Regions from separate parts of the Homo sapiens genome. Here all the other regions are linked to region 1. The links are contacts of gene promoters, found by promoter capture Hi-C in blood cells and fetal thymus (Javierre and others, 2016). All regions are on one chromosome and are shown on one strand. Each heading gives the region's core, a stretch centred on a gene start or on the middle of the fragment in contact. The rest is flanking DNA. Distances are from core to core; before and after follow the strand shown.

Region 1 (3,861 bases), core at 445-2,944:
TACAGGTCCAGTCAATTTGATATTACATGTGTGCACACAACAATATCCCAGATACCTGGAGACTACCATCTTTTCTATGTTCTTCTAGTTTCTATCCAAAAATTTGGACCTGCTACAAAGTCAAGCACACAGAAACACTCTGGGAGAGGGAAAGAGCTGGGGGATTAGAGGACAAGCGGACATACCCCTCCCTGCAAATGGGGGGGGGGGGCTATCCTGACGCGGGGGTTAAAGTGTTCGCTGTCTAAAGGATTCCTCCCACTCTGATCGATGGCCTTTAAGTATTTCAAAAGGTCATTCCAAGCTGCAAGGCCAATACCGTCTTGAAAAGGGACCTTAGAGGTCTCACTGCTCTCCACAGGGGTGGGACCCTTTCCAGAAGGCTTCCATAACTCTCCACCCCTTTTCAGGGAGAGGGCACTCGCACGGGCGTCCCCTGCACCATGCCCGGGCCGTTACCTCGCTTGAATTCCTCCAGGACAGCGTCCAGCTTGGTGTCGTTGAAGACGAAGTGGAGCGGATGGTTGTAGAAACGAGTGATGGTGCTGAGCGGCGTGCAGTCTTCGGGATCCACGAAGGCCAAGTCCTTGAGGTAGAGCATGTCCACGATGTTGGAGCGCTCCTCCTCGTACACCGGGATGCGCGTGTGGCCGCTCTGCATGATGCTGGCCAGGACGCCGAAGTCCAGCACGGTGCTGGCGTCCAGCATGAAGCAGTCTTCGAGGGGCGTGAGCACGTCCTCCACGGTCCGGCAGCGCAGCACGCCCTTGCTGAGATCGCTGTAGGGGTCGCCGCCGCCGCGCGCCAGCTCCAGCACCCGCTCCCGCAGCCGCCCGGGCCGCGCCGCCAGCTCCAGCAGCTGCCCCACGGGCAGCGCGACGGGCAGAGTGAGCAGGACGGCCAGGCGGCTGAGGCCGAGCGCTCGCGGCGCCAGCGCCAGCGTCCAGCGCCCGCTCACGGCGGCCGGCACCACCTCTCCCACCAGGAACACGAGCCCCGCGCTGCCCAACACGGCGGGCACCGCACGCTGGCCGGCCGCGCGGTACAGCAGCACCGCCAGCGCCGCCTGCGCCAGGCTGGCCAGCAGCAGCAGCGCGCCCAAGGCGCAGCCGGCCCAGCGCCGCGCGGGCTCCAAACGCCGCGCCGCCGCACGCTCCGCCTCCGAGCCGCTCTCGCGCAGCACCTGCACCTCGGCAGGCGCCAGCGCCAGCGCGCTCAGCTGCAGGCCTCGCGCCAGCGCTGCCAGCGCCAGCAGCCCGGCCGCCCCCAGGCCCAGAGCCCAGGGCGGCGCCGCCTCCTCAGCCGCCCCGCCACCCGGCTCCACGCGCACCGCCAGCAGCGCCGAGTGCGGGCGCACGGCCTCGGCCCGCAGGCGCAAGCGCAGCAGCGCGCGCCACTCGCCCGCGGGGGAGGCCGCCTCCTCCCGGCAGCCCGCCCCCTCCGGGGCCACCCAGGACCAAGAGCTGTTGGCGAAGCCCGGGCCGAAGAGGCGCAGGAGGAAGGTGGCGTCCGGCGTGTCCCGCGCCGCCCCTCCGCGTACCCAACCCGCGCCCGCCGCTCCATCCTCCTCCAGGCAGAAGCCCAGCACTCGCGGGCCCGGCGCGGCCTCCCCCGCGGCGTTGCCCAGGCAGAGCGCGGCGAACAACCAGCCTAACCGACCCGCCGCAGCTACCGCCGCCGCCATCGCCTGCTGCCCCCTCTCGGCCTCTCGCGCAGCCTACCCCGCTCGCCCCGCGCCTCCCCGGGCCAATCGTTACGGCTCTTCGCGCCTCCTCGGCCAATAGGCGGTGGGCGGGGGCGGGCCCCAGGGTCGGACTAGGCTGCGCCGGGGAGTAAACAAGTGGCGGCCAGGGGCGGGCCGGGGGCGTGGGGCTCCGGGCCCCGCCGAGTCTGCTGCGGCTCCGGATGCGCGGGGTGGCAGTGGCCGGGAGGACGCGGGGCGGCGGGCAGGGCCTCCCAAGCCCGGCTGTCCTCGGCCCGTGCGCGGCGCCCGGAGTCCCACTCCTCCCGATGCTGTCCCCCGCGCCCGGAGGCCGAGCCAATTCTCTGGGAAGTTCCCGGCTTGGGAGCGGAGCGGCCGGTCGGAAGAACCTCGGGTGCTGGCGCGCCTGAAGTTGCAGACCAGACTGAAATGTGCGAGACATGTGCCTTTTTCTTAGGAAAGGCCCCAGGTACCAGAAAGGTTTTCAGCGCGCCGACCTACGGGGCTAAGAGGGCTGAAATAAGAACCAGTGACTGAGCGCCGGGAGGTTTAAGGTTTATGGAAGATGTTCATCGCGCCGTACCCTACTAGAGGTTTGGGGACGTGGGACACAGCCCCTGCGTTCCCGCCGCGGACCCCGTGATAAATACACAGACACACAAAATCACTACCGCCTTGAATCTGGACAGCTACCTCAGGTGGTTAATATCTAACAGGAGCAGAGTGGAGCTCAGAAAGACTCAGCGTGGGTGCTGGGTTCCGGCGCGACCAGCCTGATACCTAGGTCAGCATCTCAGCCACACAAGCAGGCGGCAGTTCTGTCAGGAATTACTACATCTGGTGATTCCACTTCTCATAGCTCACCGCTGGGAGAATAATTCCTCAGGATTAACAAGATCTATTCCAGAGGATCCTCACTGCTGAAGCGATTTTAGAAGACAGTGTGGTCTGTTGACAGTATGGAATATTCTTTACCCATCAGATATGATCTGTATGTGATTGGAAGGAAATAAACCAACTGCTAACAACACTTCTCTATAGATGTTCAGATTCAGTAATTTTTGTATTTTTCTCTACACTTTTGTTTTTTCAAATTTCCTAGCACAAGAAGACTTTGACTTACTGCACATGTCATTTTAAATGACCTTTATAAAGACTCTATAGAAACAATTTGCTATGTCATGAAAGTAACAATCAAAAAAAGTATGCACATTGTGGCCACAAAGTAAAACTTGTGTGGAAGGTAATGTGCAAAAAAAAAAAAAAATGAGTAAGCTGGTGGTGAGTGACCAAAGGAAAAGGCTTTGTAAAAAACTTTTTTTTTTTTTTTTGAGACGGAGTCTCGCTCTGTCACCCAGGCTGGAGTGCAGTGACGCAGTCTCGGCTCACTGCAAGCTCCGCCTCCCGGGTTCACGCCATTCTCCTGCCTCAGCCTCTCCGAGTAGCTGGGACTACAGGCGCCCGCCACCACGCCCGGCTAATTTTTTTGTATTTTTAGTAGAGACGGGGTTTCACCGTGGTCTCGATCTCCTGACCTCGTGATCCACCCACCTTGGCCTCCCAAAGTGCTGGGATTACAAGCGTGAGCCACCGCGCCCGGCCTGTAAAAAACTTTTTAAAAGATGGTAATAGCTGGCCGGGCACGGTGGCTCACGCCTGTAATCCCAGCACTTTGGGAGGCGGAGGCGGGCGGATCACGAGGTCAGGAGATCGAGACCATCCGGACTAACATGGTGAAACCCCATCTGTACTAAAAATACAAAAAATTAGCCAGGTGTGGTGGCGTGCACCTGTAGTCCCAGCTACTCGGGAGGCTGAGGCAGGAGAATGGTGTGAACCCGGGAGGCGGAGCTTGCAGTGAGCTGAGACCACGCCACTGCACTCCAGCCTGGGCGACAGAGCAAGACTATGTCTCAAAAAAAAAAAAATGGTAATAGTGGCCCGGCGCGGTGGCTCATGCCTGTAATCCCAGCACTTTGGGAGGCTAAGGCGGGCACATCACGAGGTCAGAAGATGGAGACCATCCTGGCTAACACGGTGAAACCCCGTCTCTACGAAAAATACAAAAAATTAGCCGGGCTTGGTGGCGGGTGCCTGTAGTCCCAACTACTGAGGAGGCTGCGGCAGGAGAATCGCTTGAACCCGGGAGGCAGTCGGAG
Region 2 (3,861 bases), core at 370-2,869, 460 kb after region 1:
AGTGGCTGGCTAGCTGCCAGTCTGTGTCCCTGCCTCTTCTGGGAGCGAGCAGATGCGTCGGCCACACCCACGCTGGAGTGAGGCTATGCACTGTCATCGCACAAATTAGTAAAATACTAGAGGAGAAACCTAAAGCACAGACATTCGATTCTGAAATGAATTCTGTGACCTATGCTATAGCTGGGAAATCAAACGCTTCGTCTTAAAAATACACCAAGTACATAGGCAATCATGTAATGGTACTTTAACTTATTTTTAGTCCCAAACTAGAGAAGACTTACTTCAGGGGATTAGAGCCCCAAATGAGAGCACAAACTTGGAAAATAGATCGTTAGCACAAAAACTATACTAAACAAAATTGAGGCAAGAATAGAAATGACAAGAATGGGAGCTAACAACTGCCCAGCCTGGAGGGGAAGTATTAATTTCATTCAACACATAAAAATGACCGCACTTGAGATGAAGATCAGCGAGAGTACGAACACTGCATTGGAAATGTGCAGGAGGGGGCAGCTCTTCTGGGACCCCAAGTGTAGCTACTGCACTGCACGCACCTGGCCTCCCTACCTGCTGGCACCTCATTACAACATCCCAAGGAGAACCCCCAACTCAGGCGTGGAGGCGTATATGGGAGGGATGCTAAAATCTCTGTCAAGCCAGTATAGGGGACTGATAATAGGAGAGATCAGTTCTTAGACTGCTGCAGAGGAGTCTCAAAACAATTCACAACGCTCTCTTCTCCTCAGGGCCCCCTGGATGGGGAGCAAATAAAAACAAAGCCTCTCTGGCTAGGCAAAGGTCTCTCTAAGTCCCCTTCCCAAGAACAAACTGACACTCCAGGAGGAACCCAGGTCTCCCAAATGTGACTTGGAGAGCTGACTGCAAACAGTGGGCACCTAAGGTACCGGGCACATCAAGACCAAGAGGCGATGGTTTACCGTTTTAGACTCCACGCCGCAGAGAAGACAAAAGTTAGTGGGTTGCAAGGCACTCCCAAAAGGATACACAATTTGGCATTCCAGAGGAAACTTCTGGGTAATTTAAGCAACATAAGAGCATGATGGGCTTATTGTACCCCATGGTTATGTAAAAAAATTCCCCAATGACTGAAATGCTCTGGTGAAAGGCATCACTTGTACTTACCTTTTAAATCTGTCATTTCTACACAACCTAACTCTGGCAACTCGAGAGGTTCTCCCGTGGAGAGAGTCTGGACATCAGAGGGAAACAGCAGTTCACTTCTGTAGTCCTGGCAGTGGAGAGTGGACAGAAACACCCCTGCTGTGCTGCACTCATCAAATGAGGCTGCTGTCTTCTGAAACATGGGATCAATCTGAACACAGAGAGAGAAGAAACTGAAGATTTACGGCATGTAGCCAAGGGAAAGATAAATTCTCATGCATTTGGCCCCACTCATTAGCAGGTATATACACTGGACTGAAATATCTCCACTCATGGTCAAAAGTGGTTTGTTTTTGTTTTTTTTTTTTTTTTTTGAGATGGAGTCTTGCTCTGCCGCCCAGGCTGGAGTGCAGTGGCATGATATTGGCTCACTGCAACCTCTGCCTCCCAGGCTCAAGCGATTCTTGGGCCTCAGCCTCCAGAGTAGTGGGACTACAGGTACGCACCACTACATCTGGCTAATTTTTGTATTTTTAGTAGAGACGGGGTTTCATCATATTAGCCAGGCTGGTCTTGAACTCCTGACCTTAAGTGATCCACCCACCTTGGCCTCCCAAAGTACTGGGACTACAGTTGTGAACCACCGCACCCAACAAAAGTGGCTTTCTAATTGAGCAGATAAAATCCCGGTTCAAAAGAAAGGCTGGTTATAGTCAGGAGATAAACATATACTGCTCCAGAAGACAGTATGTGGTGGCAAGTGTACACTGTGTCAAATGGCTTTTTTATAATACATCTGGACGTGTATCCTTGCTGCTGGTCTCCTTCTATAAGTCACTAACAAATGCCATTGGCTTAAAAAGCCTGTATGATAGGGCTAGTCACAGGGCTCTATTGTTCCTCTGAACAGAAATATCTTCTAAAGTTTGGAAGAACATACCCAAGATATCCAGGCAAAGGACAGAGTCAGTAGGGCTAGCTGGCTGGGTGAAACCTGAGAGAGGTTTTAAGAAGGTCCCTAAGGCTGGGTCAGGAGCAGGAATGGCATGGCCATATGACACCAAGCCCAAAGGCAAAAACAGGCACTGGGCATAAGAACAGGGACAGGGTGAATCACACACATGTGCAGCAAGAGGCTAGAAGCCCCCTGGGACTCTGCAGGTGACCTTGAGACAGGAGATACGGTTGGGTATGGGGTTCACAGGTCTTCCTGATGCCTCAGAACGTGGCTACTATGGAGAGAGAGGGGCTTGGATAGGACAACACAGATGTGCCTCCCTGGCTCTTCCCTGGTCCCCTTAGCTCGGAGTCCAAGCTCATCAGAACTGAGGTTCAGCTCCTGCCGTACCATAAACCCATCTCACCATTCTTTGTCCCAGAGCAGCACATTCGTCATCTCCACATTCTCCCATCCCTTTAGCCCTCAGGCAGCCACACGTCCAAGTCGGTTTCCTCCCAGTGCATCTTTCCATCCCCAGAGCCAGCAATATGACCCTTATCTCTGGCCTCTCCCAATTCCCATCCTAAAAATACCTATTTTTTTTCCCCATCCTAAAAATACCTAAAAATAGGTTACTCCTATTCCATTCTCAAATGCTATCCAGAGTAATGGTTTCCCACCTGGAGCCCTGCACCCCTAAAAGTCTTGTGTAGGTAGTTAACGGAACTATACTCAGCACTTCAGAGCCAACATGGAAATTGTACACTGACCCACATTAAAGCTGAAAGCACTATGATAATGTTCCTCACTTGTGTCTAGAATTATATCATGTGTGACAACAGAGGGATTTATATCCCCAAGCAATTCAATGGGACAATGAATTATGGCTGACTGTGTAGTTTGAGTAGATGAAACCTTCTGAAACAAGGGTCCACAGTAAGGAAGGACCACAATAAAAGGCCTTACAATAGACTGAATGATAAAGTTCAAGATCTCTTTAGGTGATTTCTAAAAGCAAATCCTTGGCGCTAGCCAAACTCGTATACTCTCCAGCTTCCTAATCAGAACCTTCCTGTGCTATGGCTTTTGCTTTTACACCTCTGCTTAGAATCACCTCCCTGGCAATGCCTACCTGACAAGACACCTAGCCTTCCTTCATGGCCCAGTTCAAGTCTTGCTTCTTCCATAAACTCTGAGCCCTACCAACTCTGGTTTCCTATAGCATGTGCCTTGACCTTCCTTGCATTCATCTACCTGTATTCTCCTGGTATAAAGAACTGAAGCATAATCATGTTTGAATCCTCTATGACAGCAAATGTTCTGCAAATACCAAAGAGCTGTGTCCAAAAGAGATCGGCTCATATATAAAGAAGTGCTCTCAACTGGTCTAGACACACCCACACATTTGCTTTCTGATCTCCAAGAAAATGAGAGTTTACACCTGTAATCCCAAGTGTACTGGGAGGCCGAGGCAGGCAGATCACTTGAGGTCAGGAGTTTGAGACCAGCATGGCCAACATGGCAAAATCCCATCTCTACTAAAAATAAAAAAATTAGCCAGGCATGGTGGTGCACGTCTGTAATCCCAGCTACTTGGGTGGCTGAAGCAGGAGAATTGCTTGAACCCAGGAGGTGGAGGTTGCAGTGAGCCAAGACTGAACCATTGCAATCCAGCCTGGGCAACAGAGTGAGACTCCATCTTAAAAAAAAAAAAGAAAAGAAAATGAGAGTTTAATAAACAGTTGAAGCTTTAAATTCTGTTTGTGACAATCCATCCCTCTTTTTTATCTTCCATACTC
Region 3 (3,861 bases), core at 818-3,317, 420 kb after region 1:
CCATTGTTCTCCAGCCTGGGTGACAGAGCGAGACTCCGTCAAAAAAAAAAAAAAAAAGGATCACTTACTCATTCAGTACATGTTTATTGAGTACCTACTATATATTGCTTTAGAGGCTGGAGATCCGGTTGGTACGGAAGGCAAGGTCCCTCCCCTAGGGAGCTACCGTTCTGGAGTTAACAACTGAGATCATTTTCAATAGCAATAAGGCCATGGAGACAATAAAAGAGGCTGAGGTGAGAGGGACGTGGGGGATATGTTGGGAGGTCAGGAAAGGACACACCAGGAAGTAACATGGAAGCTGAATCTTTAAGATCCCTCTTTCTTGGAGTGGCCTTTTCTCGCAGAGTCAACACTTGGAAACCTGGGAACACAGCATTCCATGCAGAGGGAACAGCAAGCGGAAATGGGCATGGTTTGCTCCAGGGACAGATATAAAAGGTCAGTGTGCAGGGGAAGGATGAAGAGCTGGGAGGCTCAGTGGACAGGAGGGGAGAGGGCTGGCGGAGGCCACCTGATGGTGTGGGGTCAACAATACATGCTTGGGTGCTGAGTGCAGTGGGAAACACACACATACAATCACACACTGATACAGTTTCAATACATGATGCCACGTAATCTCATGTTGAATTGTAATCCCCAATATTGAAGATGGGGCCTGATGAAAGGTGATTGGAACATGGTGTAGAATTCTCATGAATGGTTTAGCACCATCTTCTTGGTGCTGTCATTGCAATAGTGACTGAGTTCACGTGAGATCTGGTCATTTAAAAGTGTGTGGCATCTCCCCCACTGCACTCTCTTTCTCTTTTTTTTTTTTTTAAAAGACAGGATCTTGCTCTGTCACCCAGGCTGTGGTGCAGTGGCACAACCTTGACTCACTGCAACCCCCACCTTCCGGGTTCAAGTGATTCTCGTGCCTCAGCCTCCTGAATAGCTGGGATCACAGGTGCGCACCACCACGCCCAGCTAATTTTTGTATTTTTTGTAGTGACGTGGTTTAACCATGTTGGCCAGGCTGGTCTCAAACTCCTGACCTCAAGTGATCTGCCCACCTTGGCCTCCCAAAGTGCTGGGATTCCAGGTGTGAGCCACTGCACCTGGCCCCCTACTCTCTTTCTCTTGCTCCTGCTCTGCTATGTGAGATGTCTGCTCCTGCTTCATCTTCCACTGTGAGTAAAAGCTCCCTGAGGTCTCCCCAGAAGCTGAGCTGATGCCTGTGTCATGCTTCCTATAGGCTGCAGAACCATGAGCCAATTAAACCTCTTTATAAATTACCCAGTCTCAGGTATTACTTTTCAGCAATGCAAGATAATACACACACATGCAAGGGCTAATACACACACACAAACACACACACACACACGCAACTGGTGGAGAGTGACCATTTGGTAGAGGCAGGAGTTAAGTGAGCACGCCAACCCCCAAACCAACAGTGATAAATGTCATGGGAATGACACAGCGAAGGTTGCTGCCTAGGCATTAGAAGCAGAACCACACACCCAAATGGTTCAAGCAGGTGACCAGAGGTAAGAACTTAGAAGCAGCTCTCTCACCTAGCAGCTCCCCACTTTTCCTGCTGCTTCTGTTTAATGGACCATTCAGGCATTTGTGCATGAACTTAAGGTGACCCACATCCTATTTCCTTATCTATACTCCTGGGCTCTGATGAGCCTCCTTATACATACTGTCAGTTGCTGCCTCTCTCTCTGTCTCTCCCTTTCTTTCTCTCTCTCTCTCTCTCTCTTTCTGCCTGACCCTTTGTTCCTGCTTCGTGTGAGCCAGGGACAGGAGACATCCTCCTGACTCACTGTGCCTTCCCTGCCCAGGATCTGAAAGTAATAAATCTTTCAGCTTGTTTCTGATTATGGTGTACTGCGCCCTCCATCTGAAGAACCAGGGGCTACCCCAGGCGGAGTTTTCCCTGGGATGCCAGGGAGAACACAAGGTCAGGATCCTAGCATCAGAGCAATGGGCAGGCAGGACATGGGTCAGACAAGGGCCACCAGGTGTCTGCCAGTATAAACAAGTTTCCCAGTGAGGGACACCTGGTCATGGATCAGACAACTAAGCAGCAGGCTGTCCACAGTTAGAAGTAACGAAAGGCACAGTGTAAACACCCACATCCTGCTCCTGCTTATTTCGTGTTAGGGCGGTGTTGCTAGGCACTGTGGTACCGGACCCCCAATTTAGCTGGGGGCTTTCAAAACAGTAAAATACTGGATTTAAAAAAAATACTTAAAGGCCAGGTATGGTGGCTCACACCTGTAATCCTAACACTTTAGGAGGCCAAGGCAGAAGGATTCCTTGATGCTGGGAGTTCAAGACCAGTCTTGGCAACATAGAGAGACTCCATCTCTACAAAACTTTCTTTTTTTTTTTTTTAATAAGTTGGGCATAGTGGCATGTGCCTGTTGTCCTAGCTACTCCAAAAGCTGAGGCAGGAAGATCGCTTGAGCCCAGAGGTTCAAGATTACAATGAGCTATGATCATGCCACTGCACTCCAGCCTGGGCAACAGAGTGAGACTCTGTGTATTAAAAAAAAAAAAAAAATCAAAACAAAACAAAACAAAAACCCCAAACTTAAAGATACTGGAAATCAGACAGAAACCAGAAGAGTTTTATTTATTTTTTATTTTTTTCGAGACAGGATCTTGCTCTGTAGCCCCAGGCTGGAATGAATTGGTGCAAACACGGCTCATTGCAGCTTCGACCTCCTGGGCTTAGGTGATCCTCTCACCTCAGCCTCCTGAGTAGCTGGGACTACAGGCCCATGCCACCATGCCTGGCTAATTTTTGTATTTTTTGTAGAGATGAGGTCTCGCCACAATGCCCAGGCTGGTCTTGAACTTTTGGGCTCAAGTGATCCTCTGGCCTCAAAGTGATCCTCTGGCCTCAAGCTCCCAAAGTGCTGGGATTACAGGCATAAGCCACTGCACTCAGCCATAGTTGTTTTTTGTTTTTTGAGACAGGGTCTGGCTTTGTCGCCCGGGCTGAAGTGCAGTGGCACAATTGCAACTCACTGTAGCCTTGACCTCCTGGGCTCAAGCCATCCTTCCACCTCAGCCTCCCAAGTAGCTATGACCACAGGCGTGTGACACCACGCCTGGAAAATTTATGTATTGATTGATTGATTTTTTTTCAGAGACAGGGTCTCACTGTTGCCTAGGCTGGTCTCAAATTCTTGGGCTTAAGTGATCCTACTGCCTCGGCCTCCCAAAGTGCTGGGATTACAGGCCTGAGCCACCACACCCTGCCTCAGAAGAGTTTTAAACTAAAACTAAAATCAAAACAAGCAAACAACAAGACAGTTCTGGGCATGAGCTGCTTTGCTCCACTGACAGTTCAGCTGTGCCTACGTGAAGCAAACCCCTCAGGGCCTGGTGAAAGAGTCTTCTCTTGAAAGACAGCTATGCAGAACAAGGGCTGTGGGTCTGATGCTCCTTGCCTCAAACACATGCATCTTGGGTTTCAAAAAGCTGAAGTTAAGGACAGAGCACACAGCAGGCAGAGCGGCTGGAAATTAGGGGAATCCCTAGAAGCAAGGAAGTCACAGCCACGATGAACCCCATGTCTGCCCAAATACTTGGCTAGCCACCAAATCTGGCAGGCAGAGGAAAGACCTGTGGGATCAGGCTTAAAGCAATAGCGGGTCACAAAAAGAACAGATATCAATAACTACACTGTGAGGGATGTGAAGTTTGCAGATTGAATCCAGACAATTAACTGCTTACTGGAATAAAAATCCAAGCATCTTTAGAAGAACATGACAGAATCCAAAGTCACTATAACATTGTATCTACAATATCCAATGTTCAACCAAAAGTTACTAAACATGCAAAGAAACAGGAATATGTGAT
Region 4 (3,861 bases), core at 915-3,414, 400 kb after region 1:
TGGCATATCTTAGTCTCCCATCTAATACACATGTTATGACCACTATACAAATTGTTATGGGGCCACAGGAAGATAATGCTAAGATTGGGCTTCTCTGGCCAATCCTAGGGGAACAATCAACAGGACTACAGTTGCAGCAGTGGAATGCCCTGCCTGGCCCCCAGCCCTGGACATTGCCCCATTCACCTGTCCCTCGCTTCTCTAAACCTCCCTGTAACTCTGTCTTCTGGACCCATGTGTCTGCTGGGTGTACAGCACCCAGCACTTGGAGCCAGTGAGTATCATATGTTAAGGAAAAATTGTTGGGCTTGGACCAATCACCCACCCCATTCCAGCCAGAGCCTGTCTCTTGTTTGTTCACCGACTACACACCCTATCCAAACCAAGCCTCTGGCTCTTGTCCTCTAAGTGGCACTGTTAAAGCGGAAACACGAGAAGGAATAAAGGAGCTTATTCTTTTTTCCTTCTTATTTATTTATTTAGAGACAGGGTCTTGCTTCATCACCCAGGCTTGAGTGCAGTTGTTACAGGAAAGGGGTCCTGATCCAGACCCCAAGAGAGGGTTCTTGGATCTCGTGCAAGAAAGAATTCAGGGCGAGTCTTCAGTGCAAAGTGAAAGCAAGTTTACTACGAAAGTAAAGGAATAAAAGAATGGCTACTCCATAGACAGGGCAGCCCCAAGGGCTCCTGGTTGCCCATTTTTATGGTTATTTCTTGATGATATGCTAGACAAGGGGTGGATTATTCATGCCTCTCCTTTTTAGATCATATCGGGTAACTTCCTGATGTTGCCATGGCATCTGTAAACTGTCATGGCACTGGCGGGAGTGTAGCAGTGAGGACGACCAGAGGTCACTCTTGTGGCTATCTTGGTTTTGGTAGGATTTAGCCAGCTTCTTTTCTGCAAACTGTTTTATCGGCAAGGTCTTCATGACCTGTATCTTGTGCTGACCGCCTATCTCATCCTGTGACTTAGAATGCCTTAACTGCCTGGGAATGCAGCCCAGTAGGGTTCTGCCTCATTTTACCCAGCTCTTAGTCAAGATGGAGTTGCTCTGGTTAACACGCCTCTGACACAGTGGTGCGATCTCAGCTCACTGCAGCCTCTGCCTCCCAGGTTCAAGCGATATTCGTGCCTCAGACTCTTGACTAGCTGGGGTTACAGGTGCATGCCACCACACCCAGCTAATTTTTGTACTTTTTAGTAGAGATGAAGTTTCAGCATGGTGCCCAGGCTTGTCTTAAACTCCTGAACTCAAGCGATCCTCCTCCCTTGGCCTCCCAAAGTGTTGGAATAAAGACGTGAACCACCGTGCCCAGCCGTGGTGTCTCTTCTTACAAGGTCACTAATCCTGCAGAACAGGGTCCCACCCTCGACCTCACCTCGTTTAACCCTTATTGCTTCCTTATAGGCCCTATCTCCCAATGTAGTCACATTGGTGGTGAGGGCATCAACATAGGAATTTGGAGGTGAAGGGGAGAAAAAAATGTATAATTTCTTTTCTCAACCCTCATAAGTTCCTAGCTGGGACACCTCTGTAACAAAAGACAGATCAATAGGAAAAAACGGTTGGGCTCAGTGGCTCACGCCTGTAATCCCAGCACTTTGGGAGGCCGAGGAGGGAGGATCACTTGAGGTCAGGAGTTCAAGACCAGTCTGGCCAACATGGTGAAACCCCATCTTTACTATAAATACAAAAATTAGCTGGGCGTGTAATCTTAGCTACTAGGGAGGCTGAGGCAGGAGAATCACTTGAACCGGGGAGGCAGAGGTTGCAGTGAGCCGAGCCGAGATTGCGCCACTGCACTCCAGCCTGGGTGACAGAGCAAGACTCCGTCTGAAAAAAAAAAAAAAAAAAAAAAAAAAAACAAAACAGGAAAAAAAGGAATATAATTTTTTTGGTGTGAATGTACAAATTTATTGACATGCATATGAACAGAAGAGACACATACAAAATATAAGACTCAAAGAAGGGGCCAGGCCACTGAAGTTTTTACATCATCCTGAGGTTATAGAGGGACACAGGTTATGGGAAAGTGTGTCTAACAAAGGCTGTCTTGTGGTGCAGATGAAAATATCCCTCAGCCGGACATTGTGGCTAATGCCTGTAATCCCAGCACTTTGGGAGACTGAGGCAGGAGAATCGCTTGAGCCCAGGAGTTTGAGACCAGCCCTAGCAACATAGCGAGATACCATCTCTGAAAATAATTTTTAAAAATTAGCTGGGCATGGTGGTGTGCACCTGTAGTCCCAGCTACTCAGGAGGCTAAGGTGGGAGGATCTATAGAGCCTGGGAGTTTGAGGCTGCAGTGAGCTCTCATTGCACTACTGCCCTCCAGCCTGAGCAACACAGCAAGACCCTGTCCCGAAAAAGAGAAAAAAAAAAAAAAAAAAAAATCCCAGGTAAACTCAGAGCTGCCCTCAGAAAGAATAGATGGTGGCCTTTGGTAAAAGATTCTCTCTGAGACCTTTAAAAGTGTCAGACTTCAGTGTTTATTTTCCTGAGTTAATCTTTCCTAGATTCAGATAAGGGAGGCATTACCCCCAAAACCGGGTTTGTTTGCCTGGTGAGTAACAAATGACTCTCCATGAGGATGCAGGTTTTGATCAATAAAAGTTTTATTACCTGGCCCAAGTAGGTAGAACCCTGGGAGTATTCTCCAAGGCAGTGTCCCCTGAGGGAAAGTGACAGGAGGGTTTCATGGGGCGATGGAGGGGGAGAGGATGTGTCTTCGCATGTGGAGGAGGGGTCCCAGAGGTGCAGACGCAGTGATCCTCATGCCAGCACATAGGTCGCATGTGATGGTGATGGAGCTGAGCTGCAGCCCTTCCTGGGGTGGAGACTTTAGCATGGTAACAAGAAAGGTCACTTGGGTTCATCTGTAAGTTGCTAGGGTCTGTTGGGAGCTGGTTTGAATCAAGTGGGTGACTGCATTCTAAACAGGGCTTGGAAGAAACAGGCTGCAGGGCAGGAGGCTGTAAAACAGGCTGATAGGCTGGGCGTGGGGGTTCAAGCCTGTAATCTAACACTTTGAGAGGCCAAGGTGGGTGGATCACCTGAGGTCAGGAGTTCAAGACCAGCCTGGTCAACATGGTGAAACCCTGTCTCTACTAAAAATACAAAAATTAGCTGGGCGTGGTAGCACGAGCCTGTAGTCCCAGCTACTCGGGAGGCTGAGGCAGGAGAAATCCTTGAACCAGGGAGGTGGAGTTCGCAGTGAACCGAGATCACACTCCAGCCTGGCACTCCAGCCTGAGTGAAAGAGCGAGACTCTGTCTCAAAAAAAACAAAAAACAAAACAAAACAAAAAAACCCAAAACAGGCTGATTGCTTAAGTTGATTAAATTCCTATAATCCTTTGAGATCCCCCAACCCCCTCACCCCTGCACCCCACTTGCTTACAGGGTCCTCAGGGAAAGCCTGGGCATTGATTTCACTAACATAGATTTTCTCTCCAGGTGCAACTCTCCCTCACGAAAGGCAGCTTTTCAAAGTCCTTCTTCTGTTTGCAGCCTCTCTGAATAGCCATCTCAAAATAAGCCAAAGAGGTATATTTTGGGGTGAAATATTCTCGTTTCCTTTGGGGGAACACAAACATTCAACCCATAACAGAGACAGTCCCTGTCAATGTCATGTGTTAACAGTCAGGAGGCAGCCCAGGGTGGAGCGGCAGGCTGGAGACCCGGGATTGCTGGGCTGAGATCCGGCTGGGGCATCCCTGAGAGCAGGAGGTGGCTGGACCGCGGGAGGTCAGTGCCTGCCTGGCGGGGAGCCCCAAGGGCACCTGTCTGGGCTAGCCAAGAGGAGAGCATCCGCCCCGGGAGGAGTGCAGGCAGGACTCCCGCTGACAGGGCCTGCT
Region 5 (3,861 bases), core at 608-3,107, 320 kb after region 1:
AGCTCTAGGAATGCTTCAAACTCAGGACTTGTGAACTGGGAACCGCAGGTGGTCCATGATCGACTGACCGTGACTGGTAGAGGCTCACAGAATAGACAGCCAGGAATGTTCACCTCAGGCCACACAGTGAGTCACAGAGGTGTCTTCCCATGGGCAGGATCAGTGAGAGGTGAACAATTGGGTGTGAGGCAAGACAAAGCCCCAGAGATTAACAGCTCCCAAGGATAGCAGGAAGCTTCCACATCTGGAAGTTTCACCATTGGCTCATGCTGCCCAGCAGCACATCCCATCCCTTCATTCCACTTTACACAGGTACACCAAGTCATAGCTGCATGTCCTGCACCTGTCTGCAAGCAGGCCACTTAGGCTAACAAGGAATTTCAGATCCAAAGGTGAACTCACAGCCAAGAAAAGCCAAATATTTGAAAAAAGTGAATATCATGATGGAAAGGACTGACAGCAAAAGGAGTTCATACCTGAAAAAATAGGGTTAATAAAGCATACAAACCTGGGCTTTAGGATAACTATAATCACATATGAAAGGATATTGCATTGAAAAATCTAGATACCTTTGGAATTAGAAGCTTGACTATTAAAATTTAAAATAACTTATTTGATAGAGTGAGTAGCAGAAAGTATGTAGCTGAAAAATGTATTAATGATCTGGAATCAACCAGAATGCATTCCAAAATTAACAAGAGATGAAATATATAAAAAGAGAATAAACAGAATAGATGAAGTTCAAATAACCATCCAATGTGAATTCCAGAAGAAAAAAATAGAGAAAATGGACAAAAGAGAAACTCAAAGAAAGATTAGAGCTGGGCATGGTGGCTCATGCCTATAATCCCAGCACTTTGGGAGGCCAAGGTGGGAGGATCGCTTGTGGCCAGGAGTTCAAGACCAGCCTGGCCAACATATAAGACTCCCATCTCTACCAGAAATAAAAATAAAAGAACAATTTCTCAGAATTGAAGAAAGACATAGCTTTTCAGATTGAAAAAGCCCCCCAGTTGCCAAACAGAATAAGTGAAGAAAAGACTTTCATTTTGACACATACTGGTGACATTTCAGAGTACCAGGGATAAACAGAAAACCCAAGAAGAAAAAAAAAACACCCCAAAACAGATCACACACAAAAGTATTAGAATCACATTATCAGTAGGCTTTTTCTCAGCAATACTTGGTACAGAATGACAATAGAACAATATCTTCAAAGTTCAGGGGGATTTTCTTTAATTGAAGCATATTTACTATAATAATATGCACATATCTTTTTTTTTTCTTTTTGAGACAAGGTCTCACTCTGTCATCCAGGCTGGAGTGCAGTGGCACAATCATGGCTCACTGCAGCCTCCGCCTCCCTGGCCTCAGGTGATCCTCCCACCTCAGCCTTCAGAGTAAGCTGGGACTACAGGCACATGCTGCCACACCTGACTAATTTTTTAATATTTAGTACAGATGAGATCTTGCAATATTGCCCAGGCTGGTCTTGAACTCCTGGGCCCAAGTGATCCACTTGTGTTGGTTTCCCAAAGTACTGAGATTATAGGCATGAGCCACTGTGCCTGGCCTATGCACAGATCTTAAGTCCCCATTTTGATGAGGAAATAATTTTGAAATCTAAAATTCTGCAGACAGCGACTCTCTCATTCAAAGGTGAGCGTAAAATGAAGAAATATTCAGATATAAAAAGACTCAAAGTTTATCATTTAACAGATACTTTATAGGCAAATTATTAGAAGAATCACTTCAGAAAAAAGAAAAAACAAGAAAAATTAGTATGATTGTAACCATTAAAAGCAAAAAAAGTTGAATCTAAGTAAATGTTAATTGTAAAAAATTAATAATAATTTGAAATGAAAACCACAGATGATATCAACATGGGTGGAATGGCAAAAATAAAAAGCATGCTAAGGTTCTTTTCTTATCAAGAAGAGGGTTTTTAAAATTTTTTTAGTTTTTTTGAGACAGAGTCTTGCTCTTGTTGCCCAGGCTGGAGTGTAACATTATGATCTTGGCTCACTGCAACCTCTGCCTCCTGGGTTCAAGCAATTCTCCTGCCTCAGCCTCCCGAGTAGCTAGGATTATAGGTGCCTGCCACCATGCCTGGCTAATTTTTGTATCTTTAGTAGACAAGGTTTCACCATGTTGGCCAGGCTGGTCTTGAACTCTTGACCTCAGGTGATTTGCCCGCCTTGGCCTCCCAAAGTGCTGGGATTACAGGTGTGAGCTACCACACCTGGCTAGGAAGAAGTTATTTTTAACAATATAAATGAGAAAAAAATAAGTTTAATTTGTATGGTAAAGAACATACAAACAAAATGTAGAACTACAAATAAAATATATAAATTCCAAATCATGTGAAAATAATAGAACTTCAATTCCTGCATCCCAACAAAAGTCAGGAAATTGGATAAAAGGATTTTTAAAAATGTATATAGTCTAGCCCTGTCATCCAGGCTGGCACAATCGTAGCTCACTGCAGCCTCAAATTCCTGGGCTCCAGCTATCCTCTTGCCTCAGCCTCCCAAGCAGCTGGTACTCCAGGCATGTGCTACCATGCCTGGCTTCTTATTTTGTTTTATTTTTTATTTTTATTTGTAGAGACTGAGTCTCAATATGTTGCCTAGGCTGGTCTCAAACTCTTAACCTCAAGTGATCCTCTGACTTCAGCCTTCTGAATAGCTGGGATTGCAGGTGCAAGCCACTGCACCTGCTGAGACAACACACTTTCTGATTTTGAATTATACTACAAAGCTATAGTAATCAATACAGTATGGTACTGGCATAAAAACAGAAAAATAGATCCATAAAACAGAATAAGGATCCTAGAAATAAACCCATGCATATATGATCAACTTATCTTCAACAAAGCACCAAGAATACAGAATAGGGAAGCGACAGTCTCTTCAATCAATGGTATGGAGAAAACTGGATAGCCACATGAAAAAGGATAAAATTGGACCCTATCTTACACTATGCACAAAAGTCTACTGAAAATGGATTAGACTTAAATGTAAGACCTGAAACCGTAAAACTCCTAGAAGAATGATTTTTTGGATATGACATCTAAAGCATGAGTAACAAAAGCAAAAACAAGTGGGACTGCATCAAACTAAAAAGCTTCTGCATAGCAAAGGAAACAATCAACAAACTGAAAAGGCCACAGTAGAAAATATTTGCAATATTTTGTATACAATAAGGGGTTAATATCCAAAATATATAAGGGACTCATATGACTCAATATTAGAAAAACAAATAACCTGATTTAAAACTGGGCAAAAGACCTGAATAGACATTTCTCCAAAGAAGACATAACAATGGCCAATACGTATATTAAAAGGTGTTCAATATCACTAATCATCAAGAAAACTGCAAATAAAATCCACAATGAGATATCACCTCACACCTGTTAGAATGTCTAATGTCAGAAAGTCAAAAGATAACAAGTGGTTGTGAGGATATGAAGAAACAGGAACCCTTATATACTGCTGGTGGGGATACAGACTGCTACAGTCATTATGAAAAACAGTGCGTTTCCAATTGCATGGCTTAAAAAATAGGAACACAGTATGCAGGTTCCTCAAAAAATTAAGAATAGAACTATCATATGATCTAACAGTCTCACTTCTGAGTATGTATCTGAAGGAAATAGAAGCAGGATCTTGAAGAGATGGCTGCCCTGCTATGTTCACTCCAGCATTATTCACAATAGTCAAGATATGGAAACAACCTAAGTGTCCATTGATAGGTGAATGGATAAAGAAAATGTTATATCTATGTATTTATTTTTCAGCCTTAAAAAAAGGAAATCCCGTCATTTACAACAACATGGTTGAACCCGGAGGACATTATGCC
Region 6 (3,861 bases), core at 420-2,919, 290 kb before region 1:
TTCTGTTGTTTATAAATTACTCAGTCTATGGTATTCTCTCATAGCAGCCCAAAACAGACAAGACTGTAGGAAATCAATTTGTATTCAGCACATCAACAAAATTCTTTACAAATGGGACTCCCCCCAATAGGTGGGTGTCACTAAAGAGAGGTGCCCATAAGCATGAGACAATGACCACGTGGCATGAGCAACGAACTACGATGAATGAGCACGTTACCACCACTAAAGACAAAACTTACATGACTAGATGACAACAAAATAATTTCTTATAATGAATTTCTCATTGTATTTTTTCTTAACCTTCCCTCCATTTAGTCAGGAATCTGGCTCTGACTCACACCTGAAGGACAGACAAGGACTTTTGTTTCCAAAAGCATAAACTGAAAGGAGAACTCGCAGAGTCTACAGAAAAGAGAAAAGACATTTGTCAACAGGGAGTGTTTATCTTTTTTAACTGGAGGGAGAGAGCAGGGATGAGGAGAGGAGATGCCTTCGGTATTGGAAAAAAACAATATTGTAGAGTTTTCCATCCCGGTACTAACAAAATTATAAAGGCCAATAAGAAATAACTGATAGCAATAAAACAAGGAAAGGGGCATAGCCTAATACAGTAAAGAAACTGGTGACTCAAAGAGAGAAAGGAAAAGAACATTCTGGAGCAAAATAGAGAGGGTCAGCATTTAGCTCCTAAGTTCCTCTTCCATCCTCCAGCCCCACCCTCCACATCCACCTCCAAATCCGGTGATTTTGAGCATAGTGAAGCACACTGACACTGAAGGGTGTCCTTATACGATCCTTCACTTGCTGGTGACTGGTGGAAACAGATGCTGGGGAGAAACAGGAGAAACAAGGTGGAGGGACATCAGGGTGCACTTCCTCTAAGAGAAGTCAAGGCTACACATGGAATGAGGAAAGCAAACCAATGCCCAGGGGAGTCCTCATGGTACTGAAACAGGAAGAGCCATCTGTTGCCCAAGCATTCTAACCAATGCTCAGAGCCCTCAGCCGCCCTTTCCCTCTACTGTCTCCTCATTCCCTTGGGCTACCAGGAAAAGTGGAGATGTTAATGGGCTCCAATCAAAGGCCACCATGAACACATCTGTAGTTGAAGAAGTGAGTTATTACTGGTTAAGTGAGGGAGAATACAAACTACAGGGAACAGTGGGGTGTCTCACTAAGAGGACATCAGAAAGGACTTAGAGGATTTGGGGTTGTGTTAGGCAATAATCTGGGAGAAGGGTTTAAGGAAATGGGGCTTTGTTCTGAATTGGGTGTTGTCAGGAAGTGGGGGTAATTCTAGCATAGCAGGGTATCTTAATAAATCTTATGTAGAAAGATGTAAACCTGTATTAAAGCCTTAATGGGTTAAGGCTATAATTGGTAAAGAACGTTAAAGCTGTAGTTGGTGAAGAAACAGTAGTTACTCTTCTTAGCTAGAATAGAGACATTGGTCATTTGTGTGATATGAACAATGCTCATGCTTTGCTCATGCTCAGACATGATTATGAAGAGGTCTTGTTTTTGTCTTAAGTATTGGCACAAAATGATATGGTATGAAGCAGATGTTCTATGGAATTGTTTATGCTCACAAGAGAACATCAACATCCATCTGTGGGTGCCAGGCAGCTCACAGCATCGCCAACTCCCGGCAGATAGGACCAGGTCAACTCCTGGCTGCCAGACACACCTCTTCTCTTTCTCAGAGGAACACAAAATACCCAATGCTCATTCTGTAGCTCAACAGGAAAACACATTCTCAGGTGAGCTGGAAAGAAAGTCGCTCATCTAATAATGACACAATTTTAAAAGACTGGTCAATTCAACTACATCAAAGACAAACAAAACAAAATTTTTTGCATGGCAAGAAAAGACTACCACCACAGTCAGAAAACAAATGAAAGAGTAGGAAAATAGGTTTGCAACTTATATCATAGACAAAGGGGTGCTATCTCTCATATACAAATAGTTCTTACAAATTTAGGGGAAATAGACCAACAATATATTGAAAAAATTAAAAAGATACGCATAGAGATTTCATAGGAAAATAATTGGAAGTTGATCTTAAACATGTGAAAAGTTACGCAACATGGCTCATAAGAAGATAAGTGTAAATTAAACATATTTCTATGCTCTGTTGTTAGGTGCATACACACATGCAGGATTGTCATGTCTTCTTGGAGAATTGACTCCTTTTTCTTAGGTAATGTCCTTCTGTATCTATGGTAACTTTTATTGCTCTTTAAGGCTGCTCTGCCTGAAATTAATAGAGATATGTTGGGGGTGTTTTTGATAAGTGTTAGTATGGTATATCTTTCTGCATCCCTTTAATTTATGCAGGTGCATCTTTATATTTAGAATGTGTTTCTTGTAGACTACATATAGTTGAGTCCGACTTTTTAATCTACACTGACAATCTCTTTTATTTTATTTCTGTCTTCCCACCTTTTATTTTAGGTTCAAAGGGTACGTACGTGCGAAGGTTTTTTTTTCTCATATGATTTTTTATTATACTTTAAGTTCTAGGGTACCTGTGCACAACGTGCAGGTTCGTTACATATGTATACATGTGCCATGATGGTGTGCTGCACCCATTAACTTGTCATTTACATTAGGTATATCTCCTAATGCTATCCCTCCCCCCTCCCCTCACCCCATTGACAGGTCCTGGTGTGTGATGTTCCCCATCCTGTGTCCAAGTGTTCTCACTGTTCAGTTCCCAACTATGAGTGAGAACATGCGGTGTTTGGTTTTCTGTCCTTGTGATAGTTTACTCAGAATGATGGTTTCCAGCTTCATCCATGTCCCTACAAAGGACATGAACTCATCCTTTTTTATGGCTGCATAGTATTCCACGGTGTATATTTGCCACTTTCTTTAATCCAGTCTATCATTAATGGACATTTGGGTTGGTTCCAAGTCTTTGCTATTGTGAATAGTGCCACAATAAACATAAATATAAAGCATGTGTCTTTATAGCAGCATGATTTCTAATCCTTTGGGTATATACCCAGTAATGGGATCACTGGGTCAAATGGTATTTCTAGTTCTAGATCCTTGAGGAATTGCCACACTGTCTTCCACAATGGGTGAACTAGTATACAGTCCCAGCAACAGTGTAAAAGTGTTGCTATTTCTCCATATCCTCTCCAGCACCTGTTGTTTCCTGACTTTTTTAATGATCGCCATTCTAACTGGCATGAGATGGTATCTCATTGTGGTTTTGATTTGCATTTCTCTGATGGCCAGTGATGATGAGCATTTTTTCATGTGTCTGTTGGCTGTGTAAATGTCTTCTTTTGAGAAGTGTCTGTTCATATCCTTCGCCCACTTTTTGGTGGGGTTGTTTGATTTTTTTCTTGTGAAATTGTTTAAATTCTTTGTAGATTCTGAATATTAGCCCTTTGTCAGATGGGTAGATTGTAAAAATTTTCTCCCATTCTATAGGTTGCCTGTTGACTCTGATGGTAGTTTCTTTTGCTGTGCAGAAGCTCTCTAGTTTAATTAGATCCCATTTGTCAATTTTGGCTTTTGTTGCCATTGCTTTTGGTGTTTTAGTCATGAAGTCCTTGCCCATGCCTATGTCCTGAATGGTATTGCCTAGGTTTTCTTCTAGGGTTTTTATGGTTTCAGGTCTGACATTTAAATCTTTAATCCATCTTGAATTAATTTTTGTATAAGGTATAAGGAAGGGATCCAGTTTCAGCTTTCTACATATGGCTAGCCAGTTTTCCCAGCACCATTTATTAAATAGGGAATCCTTTCCCCATTTCTTGTTTTTGTCAGGTTTGTCAAAGATCAGATGGTTTTAGATGTGTGATATTATTTCTGAGGGCTCTGTTCTGTTCCATTGGTCTATATCTC
Region 7 (3,861 bases), core at 443-2,942, 280 kb after region 1:
AAACCCGCTGCCATAGATGTTGGGCCATGCAGGTCCAGCGTTGGGAGGTAGAGAGCTGGGAGCCAGGCAGGCAGGACCTGCATGGTGGGGTGGGCCCTCTCCTGGCTCTGTGGAGGAGGGAAAAGGCTTATGGAGCTGGAGGCCCCGTCTCCCAGCCCCACTCAGCCCACAGAGGCAGGAGAAACCCACTTGCCCCTGATAGCTGCTGCTGCTGCTGTGAGCCACCGCACTACTGCCTTGTTCCCAGCCTGTGTGTGCAGATTCTTTTCTGGCACAATGCCTTACATGTTTTATTTGTAACAGAAGTGGGGGATCAAATGCAAAAAAGAAAACTGCTCTCCATAAGAATGTCATCCAGACTTCACCTTTCTCCATCCAGCAAGCAATAATGATGATGATGGTGATTATTGTCTCATTACTCACTTGTAACACATCTGGAATCTATTCCAGTATACAGGATGAAATAGGGATCCTAGCCATACTTTCCCCTCATTGGTTGGGGGCCCCAGTGAGTAGCCTCCTCCTCCAATGGTGTAAAATGCTACTTTCCCCATAATGTCAGTGCTTATAAGGAACACATCTGGGACTATTTCTGGACTTTCTATTCTGTCTCATCCACAGTGGGATGCTAGGACCTGTGCACACTGTTTTAATTTTTGTAGCTTTATAAAACAACTTACTATCCAGAGGGCAAGTTGCCCAATATTACTCATCTTTTAAAAATATTCCATTTGAACTTTGGGATAATTCTGTTACATTCCCTTTAAAAAAAAACAAAAACAAAAACACTTTGGGAGGCCGAGGCGGGCAGATCATGAGGTCAAGAGATCGAGACCATCCTGGCCAACATGGTGAAACCTCGTCTCTACTAAAAATACAAAAATTAGCTGGGGGTGGTGGCGCATGCCTGTAGTCCCAGCTACTCAGGAGGCTGAGGCAGGAGAATCGCTTGAACCCAGGAGGTGGAGGTTGCAGTGAGCTGAGCTCGCGCCACTGCATTCCAGCCTGGCGACAGAGCGAGATTCCTTCTCAAAAAAAAAAAAGGCCAGGTGCGGTGGCTCACGCCTGTAATCCTGGCACTTTGGGAGGCCAAGGCAGGCAGATCACTTGAGGTAAGGAGCTCGAGACCAGCCTGGCCAACATGGTGAAACCCCATCTCCACTACAAATACAAAAATTAGTGGGCGTGGTGGCACACGCCAATAATCCCAGCTACTCGGGAGGCTGAGGCAGGAGAATTGCTTGAACCCAGGAGGTGGAGGTTGCAGTGAGCTGAGATTAGGCCACTGCACTCCAGCCTGGGTGACAGAGACTCCGTCTCCAAAACAAACAAACAAACAAACAAAAAACCCCCACTACTGGGGCTTTGATTGCATTTAAATTTAGAAACTACTTTGAGGAGAAATAATACCTTTACAGTATTGCATCTTTCTTTTCAGGACCATGTGTCTCCATAATTCAGGTTTCCCTCTGCAGTCCTCAGAAGTTCCTTCTTAAAAAGCCCCTGTGCTTTCTTGGGGAGGTTTATTCCTAGTTTGTTCCTTGAGTTTTGTGCAGCTAGAAAATGGTGTTAGAAAAACCCTGATAACAGTAGTTCACTCCACAAAAGCCCCCCTGCGATTTCCTCATTTCACTGCTGGGAAGAGGGCCGAGGCAGGCTAGGTGGCTGCGCCAGAAGATGAGCCTGGGCTCCTAGTGACCCAGTCCCTTACTAAGCAGAGAGGGGGTGCGGCAGGGTGCTGGGCAGGAGGATTGCCTGAGGCTCTTCCTGTGCTATGAGTCTGATTTCTTTCCAACTCCATAGCTCCTGTCTGAGTCAAGCTCAACTCCCAGATCCTAAAACTCCAGCACTGAAGATGTTAGTCTGTCACTGCCTCCAGTAGAGGATGCTCCCATAGGTCTACTTGTTCTCAAGTTACATGCTCCACCGACTCAAATCAGTGCCCTGGCTGGTGTGGGCTAGGCATCTCATACAACATTGCATTGCTGAATCTTCCCAGCCATCCAGATATAACAGATATAATGTCTGAGGCTCAGAGAGGTTCAGTAACTTGCCTGGGGCCACAGAGCTTATCCATGGCAGAGCTGGGATTCAGAACCAGGGTAGTCTGACTCCTGAGAGACGCTGATCCCTGAGAGCTAGAGATTTTTTTCTTTCTAATGGGAGCAGGGAGACCTCAAGTTCCTTATCTGTGCTCAGAGGATGCAAACTTGTCCCCTTTCCCCAAGTAGATGTGCAGTTTCCCAGCACATCGCTCCTGTCACTCTGCTAACAAGAGCAGGTCTGTGTTGACTGCTAAGGCATCCAGGCTCAGGGATGGGAGGGGGCTGGTCAGAGAGCTGGGCAGCAGCGGGGAGAGGGGGAGGGCCGGGAAGGGGCATGGCCCCCACACTCTATGAATCAACTTCCCTGGCCTGGGTCGGGGAGGGCCCAGAGGACCCACCATCTTTGAATAAGGGGTGTTATCTCCATAATCTTGAGGAAGGAGGAAAGACCTGTTGATACCTACTGAGATTCCATTTAAAAAACTGCTACCTGTTACCTGAGAGAGTAGGGGGCCAGCTCTGGCCAGGGCCCAACCAACCTGGCGAAGCAAAGGCAGGTATGCAAAGGCAGGAAGGTGAAGGCAGTCGGGCGGTGGTTGAGAGTCACTGAAGACAAACTTAAGATGTCTCACGGGGCTTAGCCAGGACTAGAAGGTAGCTATGGGGCCAGGCAGTGGGTGGATGCGGGGAAGTCAGTGGGCCCCTGCCCTGCCAGACATCAAGCTGGAAGCAGATGAAAGTGGGCCAAGAGGACAGATGGGGCAAGGGGTTCCAGCACTGCATGGCTGCACCTCTTACCAAGTTGGTCACTGGTTCTGTATCTCCCTTTCCCCATCTACAAGATGGGCGTGCTAGACTCAATGTGCCCAATGTTCTCAGCAGAAAAAAGTGAGAAGAGAAAGGAGGCTTCCCCCACAAACCACAGCCAGGCTCAGTGAGAAGATCAGAGGCCTGCCTGTCCTGCTCCCTCCCCAAGGCACCTCGCTGCCCAGCAGGTGCTCCGGAAACATCAGCCTCCTGGGTGCAGGATGAGCGCAATGGACTTACAGACCCCTGTTGCCCAGAGAGGGGCAGTGACTAGTACAAGGCCACACAGCTCTCAAGTTTAAGGGTCTGCTGGAGGCACACACCCCTTTCCTTCTCTCCCTCCCCATCTTTCTGCTGCCCGCCCCACTCACCCTGGGTGTGATGGGAAGGAAGTGACACTTCCTTTCATGAAAAGTCACCGACTGGGAACACTGCGTCAATTACCACAATAATGGTAACAGCAGCCTCAATAACAACCAGCAGACGCCGCCCCGCCCCCTCGGCTGAGGTTGTTGGCTTAAGTTTCTCTAAGCTTGAGCTGGAGCAAAACAAAGACAGCCTTTGAAGCGGCGAAACGGCCGGTCCACTCGGCAGCCCGGGAGCGGCGGCCAGGCCGAGTCTACGCGAGCTTGCTCCAGCAGTTTGGGGAGGGGGGCCTGCCAAGTGTTGAGCTGGAGCCAGCAGTGAGAAGAAACGCGATGGGCCTGGGACCCCCACTCCCTAACAGGGCACAGGTGCAGCTCAAGCCACAGCCCAACCTCAGTACCTCAGCTTGGGGGAGGGCGAGAGAGACAGGGTCTGGGGGCAGCTGAGGCCACAAGAGCCACCAGAGGGTACAGAAAGGGAAGGAGGTGCGGGGGACACTGAATGTGAGGCTACCAACTTCCAAGCCCCATTCTCCCTGTCCCTCTTACCGGGCTCTGGGATGTCCTAAAAGCCCCAGTTCCAGGATGGGACTGTCCCTCCCCACGGAGTCTGGGCCACATTTGGTGGTGACGGACAGTGAGAG

Evidence for each region. Contacts are between HindIII fragments. The CHiCAGO score rates a contact against its expected background, and 5 or more counts as called.
Region 2: a fragment that was not itself captured here is called in contact with the fragment with the promoter of CNNM3 in region 1 in 3 of 17 cell types (activated CD4 T cells, total CD8 T cells and naive CD8 T cells); the score reaches 7.7 in activated CD4 T cells.
Region 3: a fragment that was not itself captured here is called in contact with the fragment with the promoter of CNNM3 in region 1 in 4 of 17 cell types (activated CD4 T cells, naive CD8 T cells, non-activated CD4 T cells and 1 more); the score reaches 8.5 in activated CD4 T cells.
Region 4: a contact is called between a fragment that was not itself captured here and the fragment with the promoter of CNNM3 in region 1, in 4 of 17 cell types (activated CD4 T cells, total CD4 T cells, naive CD8 T cells and 1 more). The highest score is 7.3, in activated CD4 T cells.
Region 5: a fragment that was not itself captured here is called in contact with the fragment with the promoter of CNNM3 in region 1 in 1 of 17 cell types (total CD4 T cells); the score reaches 5.7 in total CD4 T cells.
Region 6: a contact is called between a fragment that was not itself captured here and the fragment with the promoter of CNNM3 in region 1, in 3 of 17 cell types (non-activated CD4 T cells, total CD4 T cells and naive CD8 T cells). The highest score is 7.1, in non-activated CD4 T cells.
Region 7: a contact is called between a fragment that was not itself captured here and the fragment with the promoter of CNNM3 in region 1, in 14 of 17 cell types (neutrophils, megakaryocytes, monocytes and 11 more). The highest score is 10.5, in neutrophils.

What each region holds. Positions count from the first base shown.
Region 1 is chr2:96,814,101-96,817,961 of GRCh38, reverse strand. It overlaps CNNM3 (cyclin and CBS domain divalent metal cation transport mediator 3), which reads right to left and starts at 1,694. Exons shown (of 8, transcript NM_017623.5): 1 at 460-1,694. The coding sequence starts at 1,684. RefSeq lists silencers at 838-947, 958-1,097, 1,108-2,087 and an enhancer at 2,428-2,547. The HindIII fragment of the contact is 9,370 bases long and covers 1-3,861 here.
Region 2 is chr2:96,349,303-96,353,163 of GRCh38, reverse strand. NCAPH (non-SMC condensin I complex subunit H) reads right to left here. Exons shown (of 18, transcript NM_015341.5): 7 at 1,144-1,333. Among named protein-coding and RNA genes, the nearest start is that of NCAPH, 15 kb to the right of the region's middle. The HindIII fragment of the contact is 4,387 bases long and covers 1-3,812 here.
Region 3 is chr2:96,389,596-96,393,456 of GRCh38, reverse strand. No RefSeq gene overlaps it. Among named protein-coding and RNA genes, the nearest start is that of NCAPH, 56 kb to the right of the region's middle. The HindIII fragment of the contact is 6,592 bases long and covers 1-3,861 here.
Region 4 is chr2:96,409,963-96,413,823 of GRCh38, reverse strand. No RefSeq gene overlaps it. Among named protein-coding and RNA genes, the nearest start is that of NCAPH, 76 kb to the right of the region's middle. The HindIII fragment of the contact is 4,622 bases long and covers 1-3,861 here.
Region 5 is chr2:96,489,545-96,493,405 of GRCh38, reverse strand. No RefSeq gene overlaps it. Among named protein-coding and RNA genes, the nearest start is that of NEURL3, 14 kb to the left of the region's middle. RefSeq lists an enhancer at 1-430. The HindIII fragment of the contact is 2,542 bases long and covers 587-3,128 here.
Region 6 is chr2:97,106,055-97,109,915 of GRCh38, reverse strand. No RefSeq gene overlaps it. Among named protein-coding and RNA genes, the nearest start is that of ANKRD36, 5.2 kb to the left of the region's middle. The HindIII fragment of the contact is 7,335 bases long and covers 1-3,861 here.
Region 7 is chr2:96,538,227-96,542,087 of GRCh38, reverse strand. The region is part of intron 1 of ARID5A (AT-rich interaction domain 5A); the gene reads right to left. Among named protein-coding and RNA genes, the nearest start is that of ARID5A, 3.4 kb to the right of the region's middle. RefSeq lists enhancers at 3,015-3,560, 3,778-3,861. The HindIII fragment of the contact is 3,388 bases long and covers 1-3,386 here.